Linked DNA regions of Homo sapiens: regions 1, 2, 4, 5 and 6 are each linked to region 3. The links are contacts of gene promoters, found by promoter capture Hi-C in blood cells and fetal thymus (Javierre and others, 2016). All regions are on one chromosome and are shown on one strand. The core of a region is centred on a gene start or on the middle of the fragment in contact, and the rest is flanking DNA. Distances in the headings are between cores, read along the strand shown. Region 1 overlaps EHD3 (EH domain containing 3). Region 2 has its middle 42 kb from the start of EHD3. Region 3 holds the start of YPEL5 (yippee like 5). Region 4 has its middle 86 kb from the start of XDH. Region 5 holds the start of SPAST (spastin). Region 6 has its middle 4.2 kb from the start of EHD3.

Evidence for each region. Contacts are between HindIII fragments. The CHiCAGO score rates a contact against its expected background, and 5 or more counts as called.
Region 1: a contact is called between a fragment that was not itself captured here and the fragment with the promoter of YPEL5 in region 3, in 1 of 17 cell types (total B cells). The highest score is 5.3, in total B cells.
Region 2: a contact is called between a fragment that was not itself captured here and the fragment with the promoter of YPEL5 in region 3, in 1 of 17 cell types (total B cells). The highest score is 6.0, in total B cells.
Region 4: a contact is called between a fragment that was not itself captured here and the fragment with the promoter of YPEL5 in region 3, in 3 of 17 cell types (fetal thymus, naive B cells and total B cells). The highest score is 7.4, in fetal thymus.
Region 5: the fragment with the promoter of SPAST here is called in contact with the fragment with the promoter of YPEL5 in region 3 in 2 of 17 cell types (neutrophils and non-activated CD4 T cells); the score reaches 9.6 in neutrophils.
Region 6: a contact is called between a fragment that was not itself captured here and the fragment with the promoter of YPEL5 in region 3, in 10 of 17 cell types (total B cells, naive B cells, non-activated CD4 T cells and 7 more). The highest score is 12.4, in total B cells.

The regions. Positions count from the first base shown.
Region 1 is chr2:31,255,752-31,258,581 of GRCh38, forward strand. All of the region lies in intron 3 of EHD3 (EH domain containing 3), which reads left to right. LOC124905983 (a long non-coding RNA gene) reads right to left here. Exons shown (of 4, transcript XR_007086270.1): 2 at 1,905-2,096. Among named protein-coding and RNA genes, the nearest start is that of EHD3, 23 kb to the left of the region's middle. RefSeq lists enhancers at 456-1,283, 1,369-1,418. The HindIII fragment of the contact is 2,535 bases long and covers 1-2,532 here.
Region 2 is chr2:31,275,047-31,277,758 of GRCh38, forward strand. No RefSeq gene overlaps it. Among named protein-coding and RNA genes, the nearest start is that of EHD3, 42 kb to the left of the region's middle. The HindIII fragment of the contact is 2,798 bases long and covers 1-2,712 here.
Region 3 is chr2:30,145,648-30,148,408 of GRCh38, forward strand. YPEL5 (yippee like 5) reads left to right here and starts at 1,360. Exons shown (of 3, transcript NM_016061.3): 1 at 1,360-1,415. RefSeq lists silencers at 964-1,543, 1,574-1,743, 2,034-2,473. The HindIII fragment of the contact is 10,963 bases long and covers 1-2,761 here.
Region 4 is chr2:31,327,010-31,329,709 of GRCh38, forward strand. No RefSeq gene overlaps it. Among named protein-coding and RNA genes, the nearest start is that of XDH, 86 kb to the right of the region's middle. The HindIII fragment of the contact is 2,930 bases long and covers 1-2,700 here.
Region 5 is chr2:32,062,128-32,065,016 of GRCh38, forward strand. SPAST (spastin) reads left to right here and starts at 1,429. Exons shown (of 17, transcript NM_014946.4): 1 at 1,429-2,119. The coding sequence starts at 1,705. RefSeq lists enhancers at 1,223-1,292, 1,341-2,141 and silencers at 1,513-1,652, 1,713-2,132, 2,163-2,292. The HindIII fragment of the contact is 15,667 bases long and covers 1-2,889 here.
Region 6 is chr2:31,228,551-31,231,341 of GRCh38, forward strand. It overlaps a transcript of CAPN14 not described here. Among named protein-coding and RNA genes, the nearest start is that of EHD3, 4.2 kb to the right of the region's middle. The HindIII fragment of the contact is 2,580 bases long and covers 64-2,643 here.

The DNA of each region.
Region 1 (2,830 bases), core at 15-2,514, 1.1 Mb after region 3:
TTCTGGCATTACTGAGTCTGTAATTGGATAGCAGCTTTCCAGAGCAAATAGGAGGCCTCTGCTTATAAAATCACGGAAAGAGTTCCCAGAAGCCCTTGGCCTGTCCTCAGGCAGAGGCAGACTTCACACAGGCATCCCCGAGGCCTGTAAGACAGCAGCCTGCAGCCTCTCTCTCTTGCTGTGCCTGCAAAGGGTCCCTTGTAGCTAATCTCCATCCATCCTGTTGTACTCCCCACCCTCACACCTCTGGTCTCAGATGCAGAGAATTGTGAACCGAGAAAGGAAGCTCGGAGGTTGTCCAGCTCAATCCCCTGATTTGACAGGCAAAGAGACAGAGGACTAGAGAGGGGAGATTCTTGCCCAAGGACACACAGTAAGTTAGTGGCTAAGCGGAAACGAGAGGTGGACTCACCCAGGCCAGTGCTCCTCTGGTGACTCCTACAGAGCACATCCCATCTCATAGAAACTAGGGCTTAAAAGGAGTGCTTTACAAAAAACAGCAGGGCAATGAGAACAGCCAAGGTCACAGCTCAGCAGTTTCACCTGCATCCTCTGATTTGTTTAGATCCTCACAATAACCCTACGACTGAGTCACTGATTCCTCAACCATAAAACTGAGGCCCAGAGATTACTCATTTACTGTCTCCCAGATGCCAAACGTGGAACAGGTTTCCACGTTTTCCACGTTTCACTTCCGTTCAGCAAATACTGATAGTGCACCTGCTGTGTGCCACACACCGTGCTGGGTGCAGGGGAAGCCCAGAAGGGTGAGGTGCTGCCCCTGCCCTGTCCAGCTCCCAGTGCACCGAGGATGATTTCAGTGAGCTGAAGAGCAGAACAGGAGCGTGCATGATGCTACAAGACCACTGAGGGCAGGGACAGGGATAGGCAGGGGTCTATCCTGTTCTGGCAGCATGGACATATTGCTGCCCCTCAGCCTTTGCAGACACAGCCTTCTCTTACATCGCTGGTGTCATCAGGGATTGCAGCAAGTTGCAGGGACAGAGCCTCTTCCCTTCTCTGCAGCTTCTCTGGTGTCTTTGTTTTCCCCAGCCTGGTGGAGGCGTGGCTACAGTGCAAGAGTTGAGTTTGGAGTTCAGGTCTTGGCTCTGACCCCCAGCATTGCATGGCCTTGGGCCTTTCTCTCACCCTCTATAAACCTCCATTACCTTGTCAGCATAGGACTCAACACTGGCTGCCCTGGCTGCCTTAGCCTGTTCTGAGCCATTGAGCCAATATATTGGGGCTGAGATTTGCTGGACAGGTGAGAGGGAGCTGCAGCCCAGTCTTGGTCCTCCCAGCAGCCCCTCCTGTGGCCTGCACTGGCACAGCTAAAATCCAGATTGGGGAATAAGGAGCAGCAGAAGGCCAGAGGCCTGGCAGGGAGTTGTGGAGGGTCCCTACTGCCCTCCTGCTGTGAGCTGTTTGCAGAGGTGGGGGTTGGGGATTTTCTTAGCCCTCTGGCCCCTCCCTACCCACAGCTCTGAGGGACTGCCTTTGGGAGGTGACAGCAGCCTTGCCATGCGCTGTGCTGAAGGGAAGATAAAAATAGGCTGGAGCCATCCCTGGGAAGGGAAGGATGGACAGAGGGATGTAGGAAGGAGGGGAGTAGTGCGGGCTGCAGGCTTCACCTGAAGTGGGAATGCTTAGGCTTCCCGGGCTCCAGTGAGGAGCTGGCTGTGCCTGCGTGCCAGGGAGGGAGGGAGGGAGGCAGGGAGCGGCCAGGTGCAGAACGGCTGGATGGCTGACAGCTGGGTCATCTGGCCTCACGACTTGCCAACTGTTTGACTCTCTCCTCTCTGAACCTCAGTTTCCTCCCCTGGAAGTGAGAACGATACTCCTCGCGCTGCCTGCCTCAGAGCGTGTCGTGAGGGTGACATGAGATAATGACATGAACATCTTACCGTCTGCAGCAAGCACTGAACTTCGAGTTGGAGGCTAGGGGTCGTGTCTCATGGGTGGTATTGGCTGAGTCACTTAACTCCTAGAGTTTGCGTGAACATCTCCGAGGGAGGGTTGATGATGCCCCTGCCCACTGGGCAGAGCAGCCTCTGAAGCACTTTCCTGGGCCTTGTCTCTGAGCCGAGACAGGACACCTGTGTTCAAAAGAGAAGGCAAAATCTAGTTCACACCAGGCCCTCGATGACGCACCCATCAGGAACTATCCTCAGGATGGCACCTGGAGATACTGGGCCAGCTCTGCCCCTTCCTGAGCCTCAGTTTCCCTATCTGTAAATCAGGAAGTTGGACCATTGATGGCTAAGCTCCTCGTAGCCTCATAGGTCTACGCCACAGGAGCAGGGGGAGAAGGCTCAGGTGTTAGTTGAGCTGTATATTCATTGAGCAGCTGACAGATCTTGGAGAAAATCACATGGCAATGGGAATGCTTGGAAGCACTTCATTTACCAAAGACAGAGGAGCTGAAAATGGAGTAGTACTGGCATCCGGGTAACCAAAGGAGGGTTTGACCTTCCTTTGTTTGTTAGAATTCTCTTACAGCCACCAGGGAAACATTACAGGGGTCCTCCAGGAAGCTTTAGGGCAGCAAGTTTTCCCGACCGTCTGATCCCATCCCCCTACCCCCTGTGGCAGTGCCTCCACACGTCCTAAATATGTACCCCACTGGGTGTTCACTAGATGCCACAGGGTGGGGGAAAGGCTTTTTAAACCTAGCTCCGTTGGCTCCATTCATCCTCATCCCCCACCCCATCGATGCCTGCTACTTAGTCTGAAATGACAGCCTTTGAAAGTGAAAGCCAACTCGGTGCAGTGGTTCATAGCACTGACTCCAGGGCTACCTTCCTGGACTTGAGTCCCAGCCCATTGCTTA
Region 2 (2,712 bases), core at 73-2,572, 1.1 Mb after region 3:
TAAAGGACTTATTCATCCAGCTGCTCCACTTCAAGCTGTCTCCAGAAATTTCCCTCACCTGCAGAGTTCTGCCTCCTCACTGCTTATGTCACACCCCATTCCCAGGGGCAGCTGTACCCAATGACTGATCAATGAGGGCATATGAAGGTCTGGCCCCCTTGCCCCAACCTGGAACAGTTCTGAAGGGACATCCCAGCTTCAGAACTCCTTATAGGGTCAGCTGAGCCTTTGTGATTGCATTAGAGCCCAACTGCTCCCTCTGCCCAATCTTGCTTCTCTTCCTTCCCAAGTGTAAAGCCAAAGCCACTCTCTAATAAACGTTTTGCATGATGAACTCCATCTCAGAGTCTGCTTCCCAGGGAACATGACCTGCAACACTGTCTATGCTCAATAAATACTTGTTGGCATTAATGAACAATCAATTGCTCGATGACAAATCCAATCAGAGGATGGCCTGCTGGGGATTACTTAGCTGACCATGTGAATAGGTGCAGTGGTCTTGCCAGAAAATATGTACCACATGGCACCAGATCCTTGGCAGGCCACTTTGAATCACTGGGAGAAGATGGAGCCATGGAATGTGCAGGACTTCTCCTGTGAAAGTGGCCCCAAAGTTACCCCTTGGGCAGCTCCAGCCAGAGGGTCATTCTTACAGAATGATGAGAAGGACCACAGGGCTCATTCTGTGCAGAATGAGACCATTGCTCAGATTGTTCCACCTGTAGTTTCTTATTTTCTTAGAAAAGGCAAATCTCGCCTGTTATAGGACATGCCACAGCTCAGAGAGACAGAAGTTGGCAGATGAGAGAGAAGGCATCCTTTCCTGAGGTGCAGCTCCAGCCCCAGCTTTACATAAAGCAAGCATTCAAGGGAGGGACACTTCCTTAGAAATGAAATTGATGAAGATACTGCCCTTAAGCAGCAGCCTAGAACAACTGCATATAAAAACTGAGACTTTCTAACATTCAATCTAAAAGCCCTAATGACAAGGATGAGACAGTTTCAATTGCAGACTTGTAGGATACAAAAGATCAGTGGATGACAAAGAACGATGACAACAAAAGACCTGAGGGGGGTCAGGATACCCACAGCTGGTTTCAAAATCAAAGTGACTATGGATTGGCAGCAGGCCTGGAACACTGCTGGTGATAGGAGTCGGAGAGCAGTGCGGTTTCCATGACCAGTTGTCAGTGTCTTTCCTGGCACATACCCGGGGAACTGTGGCGCATTCACCTCAAGACTAAGGTTTCACCAGTTCCTCAGTGAAGAGGAGTCAAATTTAATATCAAACCCATATTGTATCTTATATATAGTTTATTATATACATAAATACATGCTATAAATAGTTAACAGTTTAGTAAACCACAAAGATCTTATTCCATATCCTCAATCACTTTACCATCTTTGAAAGGTCTTGAGAAAAAGAATTCTCTGCAGATACTTTTAAATGAATAACAACCTGGCCATAGTGAATTCCAACTGGTCTTCGTGGTGAGGATCCTAGCGGTTGGAGTTTGTAAGCAACACCCCTCACAGAATATGCCTTTGGAAATCTGTTCCTGATTGTGTACGGCTAGGCTACAAGACCTCAGGATCTGGGGGCCGAACACGACCCAGGAAATCATCATGTCCCCCCAAATCTCAGACAGTCACTGATGAAGTTGATGAAGTTCTGTCTCCTTGTGACGGTCCTTGGCCACTCACATGTCCAGACCAATTACTTCTGGATGCAGTATCTTCCAGCAATGACTGTCTAGTCGTTATAATATTATGCCTTTGAAACATGCACAAAGAATTGCATCTGAAAAGCAGTTAGTCATTATATATTTGTCAAAACCCACAGAATGTACAACACTAAGAGTGAACCCTAGGGTAAACTGTGGCTTTGGGTGACAGTGATGTGTTAGTGTAGATTCTATTGCAACAAATGTGCTTTCTGGAGCGGGATGTTGATAATGAGGAAAGTTGTGTGGGGTGGGGTACAAGGGATATATGGGAACTCACTGTACTTTCTGTTCAACTTTGCTGTGAACCTAAAATTGCTTTAAAAAGTAATGTTTGTTGGCCAGGTGTGGTGGCTCACGCCTGTAATCCCAGCACTTTGGGAGGCTGAGGCAGGGGGATCACCTGAGGTCAAGAGTTCCAGACCAGCCTGGCCAACATGGTGAAACCCCGCCACTACTAAAAGTACAAAAATCAGCAGGGCATGGTGGCAGGTGCCTGTAATCTCAGCTACTTGGGAGGCTGGGGCAGGAGAATTGCTGGAACTTAGGAGGCAGAGGTTGCAGTGAGCTGAAATCGTGCCATTGCACTCCAGCCTGGGCCGACAACAGCAAGACTCAGTCTCAAAAAAAAAAATTTTTTTTTTAAATTATGTTTATTAATTAAAAAAAGAAAGAAATCATGGTCCTTTCTGTCTGTACAGGTGGACTTCAATGTCTATATGTAGCAGTAAAGGAAATACTGTCTGGCATGAGCTCTGGGTCACTGGAGTTGGGCACTCTGGCTCCTTCTTTCCCATCAAAATAAAATTAAAAAATAATAAAATCAATGACTGCTGGATATCATGGTGAGAGTTTCATGTTTTGAGCTGGGGTTTGGGGCCTGATTATTTTATTAATTATCTGCTCATCTGGGGAGCCCTTGGTTTCCTTTCCTGTGAGCCCCTTCTCTGCAACCCACATCGGTTCTCTTGTTCAGAACTACCTTCCA
Region 3 (2,761 bases), core at 110-2,609:
GAATTGCTTGAACCCGGGAGGCGGAGGTTGCAGTGAGCCAAGATCATGCCACTGCACTCGAGCCTGGGCGACAGAGCAAGACTCCGTCTGAAACAAACAAACAAAAAAACTTATCTCCTGGAAAACTCACTTATTAAAAGATAACTAGTCCTTTTGCCTTTGATGCTCAGGTAAACTTCAGACGAACTAAATGAAAATACTTGTGGATTTGGGGATGAGCGGGAGTCAAGTGCTAGAATTTGCTTAGCAGCTTCTCTTCCACCAATAATGACTTTAAACATGTTGCAAACTAGCCCCAAATGCTAACCTACATTTTTAATCTGAGAGGTATGCGTCATCAAATATTTTGGTTTTATCCCGAAAGTCAGCTAACAGAGATGTAAGTACCTGGGCAACTCTAATGGAATGAGAAGCAACATCTTCCATCTTAAGCATTGATAAGGGTTAAGGGAACAGCTGCTCTTTGCAATGAACAAATCTCACTCTCTGAGGCAGAAATTCGCCATATAGAAGACTGAATTTCTTCATCTTTTTGAGAATCATTTCCACTACCCAGAAAAAACATTCAAATGAGTTGTAAATAAAGTCAAGCGCAGTTGAAAAATCCTGTATCCACAGATGTTTCTTAGGAGTGCCTATGCGCTTAGACTCGAGGGCTAGGGGTTTGAAAGCAAAAGGCAGCCCTCTACCAGGGGTGGTCGGGGAAACGGCCTCCAAGAAACGAATTACACGGTGCACTTTAGTTACCTAGGCAGCTGTTTGTCTAGGAAACAGCTTATTGTTTTCATTTGTCATCACCGCGGCTCACTAGGTATCAGGAAGCTCGGCTCCAGCCGCTACCTGGTGACGCTAATGACGTGCGATGTCTCGCAGCTGCCGCAATTAGACAGGCCAAGCCTTCGCCTTTAAGAAGCTGACTCACGTGGATGCTGTGTTGTGTGCGCTCAGCTGAAAGGGGGAGGTGGGTCCCCAGACTGACTACATTGGCCGCCTCGAGAGAAGGGGCAGAGTTAGCCTCTTTGATTGGCTGTACGAGTCCGAGGTGCTGGGTCAGGGGCGGGGCGAGCTGTCGCAAGCCTGCCCTGGGTCTGCGGCTTCTGAGAGGGGTGGGCCGCGAAGCGGAGGGGTGCGGGAGTGGGGGAGGGTGAGCCAGAGAAGGGGCGGGGCCCCGCGAAAAAGGCAGGAGGCCGAGGACAGGGGCGGGGCCTAGAAATAAAGGGCGTTCTGGGCCAACCGGGAGAGCTGACTGCGGGGGGGCGGAGCCACGCCGGGTGACTGACGTTGAGGCCCAACCAGGGAGAGGCGGGGCCAAGGCCAGGGCCTGACTAAACCTGGAGACTCGGGTGGCCGAGGGGCTTCATACCAGCTGAAGAGCGACAAGCCGCTGGCAGCCGCGGATCTCACCGCCGCTCAGGGTGAGTCCCGCGGGAGGGGCTGGACTCGGGGCCGGTGGGGACTGAGGCGCCCGTTCGGGTCGGGCGGCTTCGAGGCACTCGGGAATCGGCCCAGGGTGGGGGGCCCAGGCAGGAAGTGCCTCTTCCTCGCCGCGCTCTTCCCGGGGTCCCAGAGCGGCCGCCCCAGATCCTTCAGGGTGGGCCCCGGCGCTGGGACCGCGGGCGGACGCGCGGGGCTGTTTGCTCTTTGTGAGGCCTGGCGCGGCGGCCGCCGTCGGCCCGCCCCCGCCGCGCAGCCGGGCGACCGGTGCGACAACAGCCGCAACCCCTCCGCGCGGCGCCCGCGCCTCCGCCCCGTTTCCCCGTCGCGTCCTCCGAGGCCCGCCGCCGAGGCCCACGGCGCCCCCTGGGCGGACGGTCTGGCCGCGACCCCCAACCCGCCGCGCCGCGCCGCGGCTGCCCCGCCCCCACCCGTCGCATAGTCGGGGGCGCGCCCGGTCTCCGCCCCGAATCCAAGTCGGAACTTGACCGAGTTGTTTGGGCCGCGATGACCGCACGGCGTGAACCGTCCTGAGCAGGGCCCACGCCCGGCCCAAGCGGCCCAGCCACCGGGCTGGGGCGGTGTCTCCCTTTGCCCCCTCCCCCCCATGAACGTCCGCCTCCCCCGCCCTCCTGCCCAGAGGACCCGGGACTGACAGCGCAGGGTGACGGTTGGGCAGCCCGCCGGGTGTCGGGACCAAGAGAGCCCCCCGGCCACCCGCTCAGCTGTTTCCTGCTCGTGTTTGTTGTGCCGAGGGAGGCCCCGCCGCCACCGCCGCCGCCGCGCTCTGCCGCCCCGGTCCCTCCCGATTGGCCGGCTGGCGTCACGTGGCCTCCATCAGCTGGGCCGGCGGGGGCGCTCGCGGGCCCCACTGCGGCTGCCGGGTGAGCCCACCCGGGGGTCGCCCGGGCCGGCCCAGCTCCGCCAGCTTCGGGCTGCGGCCTTCCCTCCGCTTGCAGTCGGGAGGGTGGGCGTGCCCTTGCAACCCCTTTCCTGTACCTTCTCTGCAGGTAGATGGGACAAATGAGTGTCCGGATCAGCGGGAGTGGGAAATTGAAATACTACAAAGATCTGTTTAATCCTGATACCAACTAATCTCCCTTTCAAGGGAGAGTCTGGGAAGCTGTACAGCTCATTTATTTTTAAACTTTTTCTGTTTACAGAGATCTGTTGGTAATCTGAGGATTTTTATTCTACGTCGTCTTGACAGATGGAAAACCTGAAGTAACTTCGGGCTAACCTTGTGTTTTTGGAAAATTAGTAGACTTGGTGGTGAAGAAACTGGGAGGAGTAGGATATTAGCTAACTTTGCATAGCCACATATAGA
Region 4 (2,700 bases), core at 1-2,500, 1.2 Mb after region 3:
TGTACCTGGTTGTAAACACATTTGAAACATGACTAACAAACCAGATAGTCCACTCCTGGGTATAATTTCCCCAATACATAGAACGATGTTAAGGAACTATAGTTCAAACAAAACACATAATTATGTGCTCTGATAAGGGATTAGAAGCAAATATCAAAGTTAAATATCATCATTTATGATTCTTTTGCAGGGAGGGTAATTCACTATGCTGGAATGGATACCGTATGAGTGTCCATTTACAAATAAGAATTTCTTGGTACGTTCTTGCGCTAGAAAATTTCTATTTTGTAGAGAGATTGCTATCGCACACTTACTACAAAGGACCGACGTTATCGTAATGAAACAACTAAATCAGTAGAAAGAATAGCTAAGGAGACTTGGCTTTTAATTCTGCCACAGCCACCTCCAGAATCCTCCGTTGCCTCCTCCCCACCATCCAGGTGGTAGGCTAGACTCAGCTTTCTCCACCTCAGTTCTACTGACATTTTGGGCTGAATAATTCTTTGTTGCAGTGGGCTGCCCTGTGCAATATAAGATGTTTAGCGGCATCCCTGCACTCTACCTGCCTGATTCCAGGAGCCACCACCCCTCCCTGAGTTGCAGCAACCAAAGAGATTTCCAGACATTGCCTAATGTTCCCTAAAGGTAAAATCACCCCCAGTTGAGGACCACTGGGGATTGTCCCTTCCAACTCTAAAATGTTATGCAATCCTTTGAGCAATACACATAGTTTTCTCAGAGCTTAGGTAAACAAAGTATGAAGAGCCAACAATGGCCAGGCAGACAGCTCAGGTCATGTGTGTGGCTACTCAATTGCTATCTCAAGAAAAGAGGAGCATTTGATGGAGCAATAGAGGAAACTGATAATGCTTTGACCAGGGATGTTATCTACTGTGAGAATGGGGCAAGTGGCTATGGAAAATGATTGAGGCTCCGGAGAAATTGAACGTATTGTCAAGATCAACCAAGCACACACACTTTACCTCACTACACTGGGTCTCAGCTCCCAATAGATTGGGAATTCCCAGCCACATATTACATTATAGCAGAGTGAGGATTCCCAGCCATACAATACCCAGAGAGTAGGGAGGGAAGAATGTGATTTGTTAGTAAGTTATGCAAGTAGAAAATGGTATATATCCTGTCATAGGGTGGTTCCCAAGAAGCAAAGCCTTAAAAGATGGTATAAACTCCCAGATGAGGGGACTTCTGTTTTAGCTGAGGGCAATTCTCAAGATAATAGGCAGATGTGTACTGTCAGCTGCCAACATTTAGAGGAACTAGTAACTCCCAGCCAAGGAAAAGGATTTGCAATAGTGTCTACTACAAGTGTATAGCATAAACATGTTTGGACACTAAATTTACAAAATTGTTGTACATAGGCTTGGAGAATCTTGGAACAGCAAGGTATTGACATTTATTAAGCACCTAACAACAGGTGTCAGATGCTGTGCTGAGTGTCTTTGTTTTCTTTTATTTTCTTTCTTCCTTTTGAGACAGTCGCTCTCTGTTACCTAGGCTGAAGTGCAGTGGTCTGATTTGAGGTGCACTGCAGCCTCAAACACCTGGGCTCAAGAAATCCTCCCGCCTCAGCATCCCAAGGAGCTAGGACTACAGGTGCACACCACCGAACACGGCTAATTAAAAATTTTTTTAGAGACGAGGTCTCACTATGTTGCCCAGGCTGTGCTGGGTGCCTTTCATTGACTATGTCATTTAACTTCACCACACTGACAACAGGTCTTATTCTCCTCCACTTACAAATGAGGAAACTGAGGCTCAGAGGGTGAGTAATGTTCCCAAGAGAAGAGAACTTATGAAAATACTGGAGCTGAGTAGAGCGTTTGCTGGCAGCCCTTGCTCTTTACACTTGAGCCCCTAGCTTAGCCCAGCATCTGGCCTTTTAAAAGGAACACATGGCATATATAGTTGAGGAAGGAGAAAACCTGATTTTGGGACTTAGGAACATGCATACCGAGTGCCTTGCAAGCCAATCTCCTCATCAGCTGAAGGCCACAAATTACCAACAACTTTACTACAGCCACATCTCCCAGAGGCACAGCACTCCTGGCCCCCAGCAGTGGGGATGGAGAATGGGGGGTGTTTCCAGATTAAAGTAGTGCATAGGAGAGCCCAGAGCTCCACACTACTACAGAACCACCACGGGACCATTGTCACCAATCCACAAAGGCCTATAAAGTACACAGGGTCCTGGCAGGAAGCCCTTGGCCCACTCCAAGAAGACAAAGAATACTTTCACTTGATAAGACTGATGGCTCTCAGGAGGATGGAGAAAGGGTCCAAGACCCCATACATTCTGCCATACATTCTGTACCCTGGGAAAGGCTTATCATTAAGCAACAATCAGGACTCCCTGGGGTGTGGAGGAAATGACCTTTGGGCCATTATCAACAATGCCTCCCAACCCCCTCGCCTTCTGGAGCTGCCTCCCACTCTGAAGTGACTGTTCTGGGTTTGGAAAGAGAAGCAGGGAGTCTGATTCCTAAGGCAGGTGCTTTTCTACTGACAATGAGCCAGGCATGTCCTTTCCCCTGGATTCTGAGACCAAGATGGAGGGATGGAAGAGAGTGAACAGGTAGAGAGATGGTTGTGATGGGTGTGTGAGTGTGTGTGTGTTCTCTCCAGGGCTAGAAGCCAACTGAAGTGTGTAATGCAAAAAATTAAGAGCCAGCACCACCC
Region 5 (2,889 bases), core at 179-2,678, 1.9 Mb after region 3:
GGATCACCTGAGCCAGGGAGGTGGAGGTTGCAGTGAGTCATGTTGTTTGCGCCACTGCACTCCAGCCTGGGCAATGGAGTGAAACCCTGTCCAAAAAATAAAAAAATAAAGCTGTGGCAGAATGTGGAGATTCTTGGAAGCTGGAAGCTCTCATGGGGCATTTGGAAACCTCACATTGTAAATAACGGAGTCTTTTTATCAGTTTGGCTTCCTTAGTTTTAGGAAACAAGAAATAATTATGGCTAACTCAAGTAAAAAGAGAAAGAGAAGAGAAAAAAGACGTGGAGATAGAGAGAGAGGGAGAGAGAGGAAAAGACGAAAGGAAGGAAGGGGGAAAGGAGAGAGGAAGAGAGAAACAGAGAAACAGACTGATTAGTGTATTGGATAGATTACATAACCAAGTGACCAGTCAGGAACCCAGCAGCTCTGGGGGAGCTCAATGTGATGCATTGATAAACCCGCTCTTAAGAGCACTCGTTTCCAGTTACTTTCTATTCGGTGGGTCTCCAGCCAAGATTCCAGGTCCCAGGAGAATCTGACTGACCTAGTGTTTGCTTCCGCCTTTGCGGTCTGGGTTCTGTGCTTGCAGCTCATTAGAATACAGGGAGCAGAGACAAGCAGGTAGTTTCCCAAAGGAAGGGATGCTGAGTAGATTAAAAAAAAAGTGTAGATTCTTCAGTAAACTATGGGATGGTAACTATGCAAAACCTAAGATTTCCCTTATTCAAATAAATTATCTTTCATATTAGACATCTAAATATGCACTAATTTAGTTAAACCCCTGGGTTAGTTGATCTCATCACACTGAGCTAACATTTTTGTTGCTGTTGTTTGCAGTGACCTGAAGTTTCTTATCTTCACAATTGCTTTCCTCTCAAATAATTCCCAGATTTTAAATTTTTATTTTATTTTTTCTGGAGACGGAGTCTCGCTCTGTCGCCCAGGCTGGAGTGCAGTGGCGCGATCTCAGCTCACTTGCAGCCTCTGCCTCCCGAGTTCAAGCGATTCTCCGGCCTTAGCCTTCCAACCAGCTGGGACTACAGGCGCGCGCCCCCACGCCCGGCTAATTTAATTCCCAGATTGATATCCATTGCTTCTGAGATGGGCCAATTATCCTTCGGAGAAGACTTAGGTCGCCTGGCAGAAAAAGATGAAAGAAATCTAAGAAAACGACGACACTGAGAGAGGAGCCTAGCGAACCAGCAGAGCGACCCCAAGCCGCAATTCCCCCTTCCGTGGATCGATTACGAAGGCTTCCTGGCAGGAGCTCTCCAGGGCTGCCGACGTGAGCCGAACTGCACATTGGGAACTGTAGTTGAGTGGGAAAGCCGAGAGGCGGGGGCCGCACACGCGTACAGGGGCCCCGGTCAACAAAGACGCGCCGTGCGCGCGCGCGCCGGAGAAAAACACGGGAAGACGTGCGCGTGCGCGGCCGCCGCTGGGAGCCACCAGGCGGCGGAGAGGACAGCGACAGGAAGGGAGGGGCCCGAGCCACCGACTGCAGGAGGAGAAGGGGTTGTGCTCCTGGCCGAGGAAGGAGAAAGGGGCGGGGCCGGCGGGCAGCGTGCGGCAGTGCGGAGCTCCTGAGACCGGCGGGCACACGGGGGTCTGTGGCCCCCGCCGTAGCAGTGGCTGCCGCCGTCGCTTGGTTCCCGTCGGTCTGCGGGAGGCGGGTTATGGCGGCGGCGGCAGTGAGAGCTGTGAATGAATTCTCCGGGTGGACGAGGGAAGAAGAAAGGCTCCGGCGGCGCCAGCAACCCGGTGCCTCCCAGGCCTCCGCCCCCTTGCCTGGCCCCCGCCCCTCCCGCCGCCGGGCCGGCCCCTCCGCCCGAGTCGCCGCATAAGCGGAACCTGTACTATTTCTCCTACCCGCTGTTTGTAGGCTTCGCGCTGCTGCGTTTGGTCGCCTTCCACCTGGGGCTCCTCTTCGTGTGGCTCTGCCAGCGCTTCTCCCGCGCCCTCATGGCAGCCAAGAGGAGCTCCGGGGCCGCGCCAGCACCTGCCTCGGCCTCGGCCCCGGCGCCGGTGCCGGGCGGCGAGGCCGAGCGCGTCCGAGTCTTCCACAAACAGGCCTTCGAGTACATCTCCATTGCCCTGCGCATCGATGAGGATGAGAAAGGTAACTAGGGGGCTGGGGGAGGGGGCGGCGGCGCCGGGAAGAAGGCGGTGGGGTCGCCGGGGGAGGGCAACACCTGCGTCCCTTTTCTGCGGGAGGGGACGGTGCACCCCCGGAATTGATATGCCCCGGGAGACTGCTTTCCCGTAGGTCGGAGCCTCATCTTCTAGTATTCTTAAAACCTCTCCCCTTTCAGGGCACTGTAGCTGTCGACTTTGTTTCAGACACCAGCCTTCCCCCACACTTCTGCATGACCCAGGTCACTATGAGACACCCAGACGTGTTGATGACAGTGACATTTGTCCTAGAGTGACCACACTGATCCTTTCTAGCACTGTGAAGAGTGTGCAGCTTCCTCTGAACCAAGGTTTCCAAAAGGTTTTGATATTGAAGAAGCAGTGCCGCCTTACTGGCTTTTAATGAAAGCAGAGTATTGTAGTGTCAGAAAAAAAGAACAAATGGTGACAATTTTGAAAGAAATAGCTGCATATGACTGCAGTTGAATTTGCATCATTTTAATCAAGATAATCATTTTATCAGTACAACGATTCCTGAATACTTTTTCAATGAAGTTATATTTAGCATAAAACTTTTCCCCCTGTTGCTTTGATTTTAATTAAAACAGTATTCCAAAGTAGCCTTTAATTTCCAAGTTGAAATGTTTGATGAATGGATTGCGTAAACTTAAACATACCACTTTACAGTAAAACCTAAAACAACTATGTATGTTTCTGAATGAAAGCAAGGATACTACATCTTTCGGGTTTCTTTTA
Region 6 (2,791 bases), core at 104-2,603, 1.1 Mb after region 3:
CACTAACTTATTAGGTGCCAGCATATTAAATAGCTTATTAAATATTACAGCTATTAAATACTAAGCTTATTCAATAGTTTATTAAACAGCTTCTTAAATAGGATATAAGGCAGTGCCATGTAGTGGATAAAAGTAATAATCATTATAATATTAAGAACTAATACATACTGAACACTTTCAATGGCACTTTACATGCACGGTCCCTTTAATCCTGAAAAAATGCTATTGCCATCTTTATTTCAGAGACCAGGGTGCTAAGGCTTGAGAGTGAAGCCACTTTCCCCAAGCTCACACAGCAAAGACACGGGGACACCAGGACTCCATCTACTGCAGGTTGTCTGACTGGGAACCCCCATGCACCTGGCAGGTGACAGAAATAGGAGGCATGTGCTGGGTTTGGAAGAGACACCTGGTGGGAGAGGGCCCTGTGGAGCCAGATGGGGCTGAAAACAAATGTTGAATGCAAGAAAAGTCGAGTTCCAGGGGCATTACATGCAGCAGGATATGCTTTTTAGAAAAAGTCCAAAAACACTAAACTTCAACAATATGTTCTTTTGGCTTGCATTTGTGTATAACCGTAATTAAAAAGCAAGGGGACAACACACAGTAGATTCAGGATAGGGGTCCCCTCTAGAAAGAAGGAGAAGGGGCAGGAGACAGGATGGGGAGGAGCACATAAGTAGATGTAAATTGCTGCTAATTTTTCTAGTCCTTGGTTTGAATGATAGGTTCATCAAGGGTCCATTACAAAAACATGTGTTAAGTTTTTTAAAAATATAATAAAGGAGCCAGGTGTAGTTTGTCTTGAACCACAGTTATGAAAAAAATTCCAACTTTGTGCATCCAAGGACCAGATTTTTTTTAAAATAAAGGATAAAAGGAATAAGAAATGAACAGCCAAGTATTCACTATCAAATTTGAGGAATAATAGCCTGGCCAACATGGTGAAACTCCATCTCTACTAAAAATACAAAAATTAGCCAGGTGTGGTGGCTCATGCCTGTAGTCCCAGCTACTTGCGAGGCTGAGGCAGGCTGAGAATCTCTTGAACCCAGGAAGTAGAGGTTGCAGTAGGCCAAGATGGCGCCACTGCACTCCAGCCTGGGTGACAGAGCAAGACCCTATGTCCAAAAAAAAAAAAAAAAAAAAGGAAAAGAAAAAGAAAGAAAACAGTGTATATATAGTATATAGCTGAAGCTCCCTGTGTACCCATCCCCAATTCCATTTCCCTTTTTTGTCCCAGAGAACACCCCATTCCTGACTAGTGTTTTATGTTCCTTTGCTTCTCTTTTTAAAAACTTCAATGCACACATATGCATCCATGAACAACAGATAGTGGTTTTTGCATGACCTGAAACATTAATGAAATTGTATGATTCTATGCATAATAGCCTACTTCTGGCTTTATTCACTCAACACCATATTTTGGCATAGGTAGCACCACTTCCCTCATTTTTCTCATCTGTAGAGTATGTATTTTTTGTAACTTTCATTTTAGGTTCGGGGGTACATGTGAAGGTTTGTTATATAGGTAAACTAGTGTCATGGAGGTCTGTTGTACAGATGATTTCATCACCCAGGTGTTAAGTCTAGTAACCAATAGTTCTTGCTTTTTGTTCCTCTCCTTCCTCCCACCCTCCACCCTCAACTAGACCCCAGTGTGGTATATATTTTATATGAATGTGGCACATTTATCCATTTACTCGGTGAAGGACATTTAGTTGTTTATAAATTTTTGCTGCTACAAATAATGTTGCCATCAACATTCTTAAGACTTATCTCCCTATGCACATGTGCAAGAGTTTCTCTAGATCACGCCTTGAAATAGAATGGAAGGAGATAGGTCATAGGACATGCACATCTTCAGCTTCACTAAGCAATGCCAAACTGTTTCCCAAAGTATTTGTGCCAGCCTGCACGCCCATCAGCATTTTATGAGAGCTCCCATTGCTCTACATCCTCACCAACCCTACCATCCAACTTTTTATTCTTGCCATTTTGGTGGGTATGGAGTGTTAGTGTGGTTTGGCATTTCTCTAATTACTAATGAGATGCAACATGTTTTCTTGCGTTTATAGGGCATTCATGTAGCCTCTTGTAAAAGACATTTTTGTAGCTCTTGCCAAGTTTTTTTCTATTGGAATGTTTGTCTTTGTTATCGATGCACAGCCATTAGTTCTATATTCTGGATGTGCTTTCATGGGTTTTTGTGTATAGGAAATATCTTTTCACTCACTTTTGTATTTTTAGTTGAACGAAAGTTTTAAATTTTGCTAGTGCTAAACTTAGTTTTTTTCATTTTTCAGTTTGTGCTTCTGACGTCTTGTTTAAAGAACTCTTCCTGACTTTGTGGTGATATATATGCAATCTCTATTGCAACTTCTGTATATGTCAGGCTTCCAAATTTCCTGGCTATTTACTGTGTTGTTATTCTGTTGGTCTCTGTGCCAAAACCATATTAACCACTGTAACTCCATAACAATGTCCACTAGGGCAAGTCCTCTTCGCTTAGTTGTTGCCATTGCTATGTTACTGTTGTCCTCTTCTCTTCTCTGTTCTCCTTTTTCTGCCCTCCTTCCCCTTCCACCTCTCCCTCTCCTCCTCCTTATTCTTCTTATCTTCTTTCTTCTCCTGGAATATCTAAGCTTTTTTTTACTATTGCTCTATAAGTTATACATTTTAGAATCACCTTGTCAATTTCCATGGAAAACCTTATTTAGATTTTGATTTCAATCATATCTCTCAATTATTGAATTTATCAATCATGTTGTAAAGAATTCACATGTTTGTG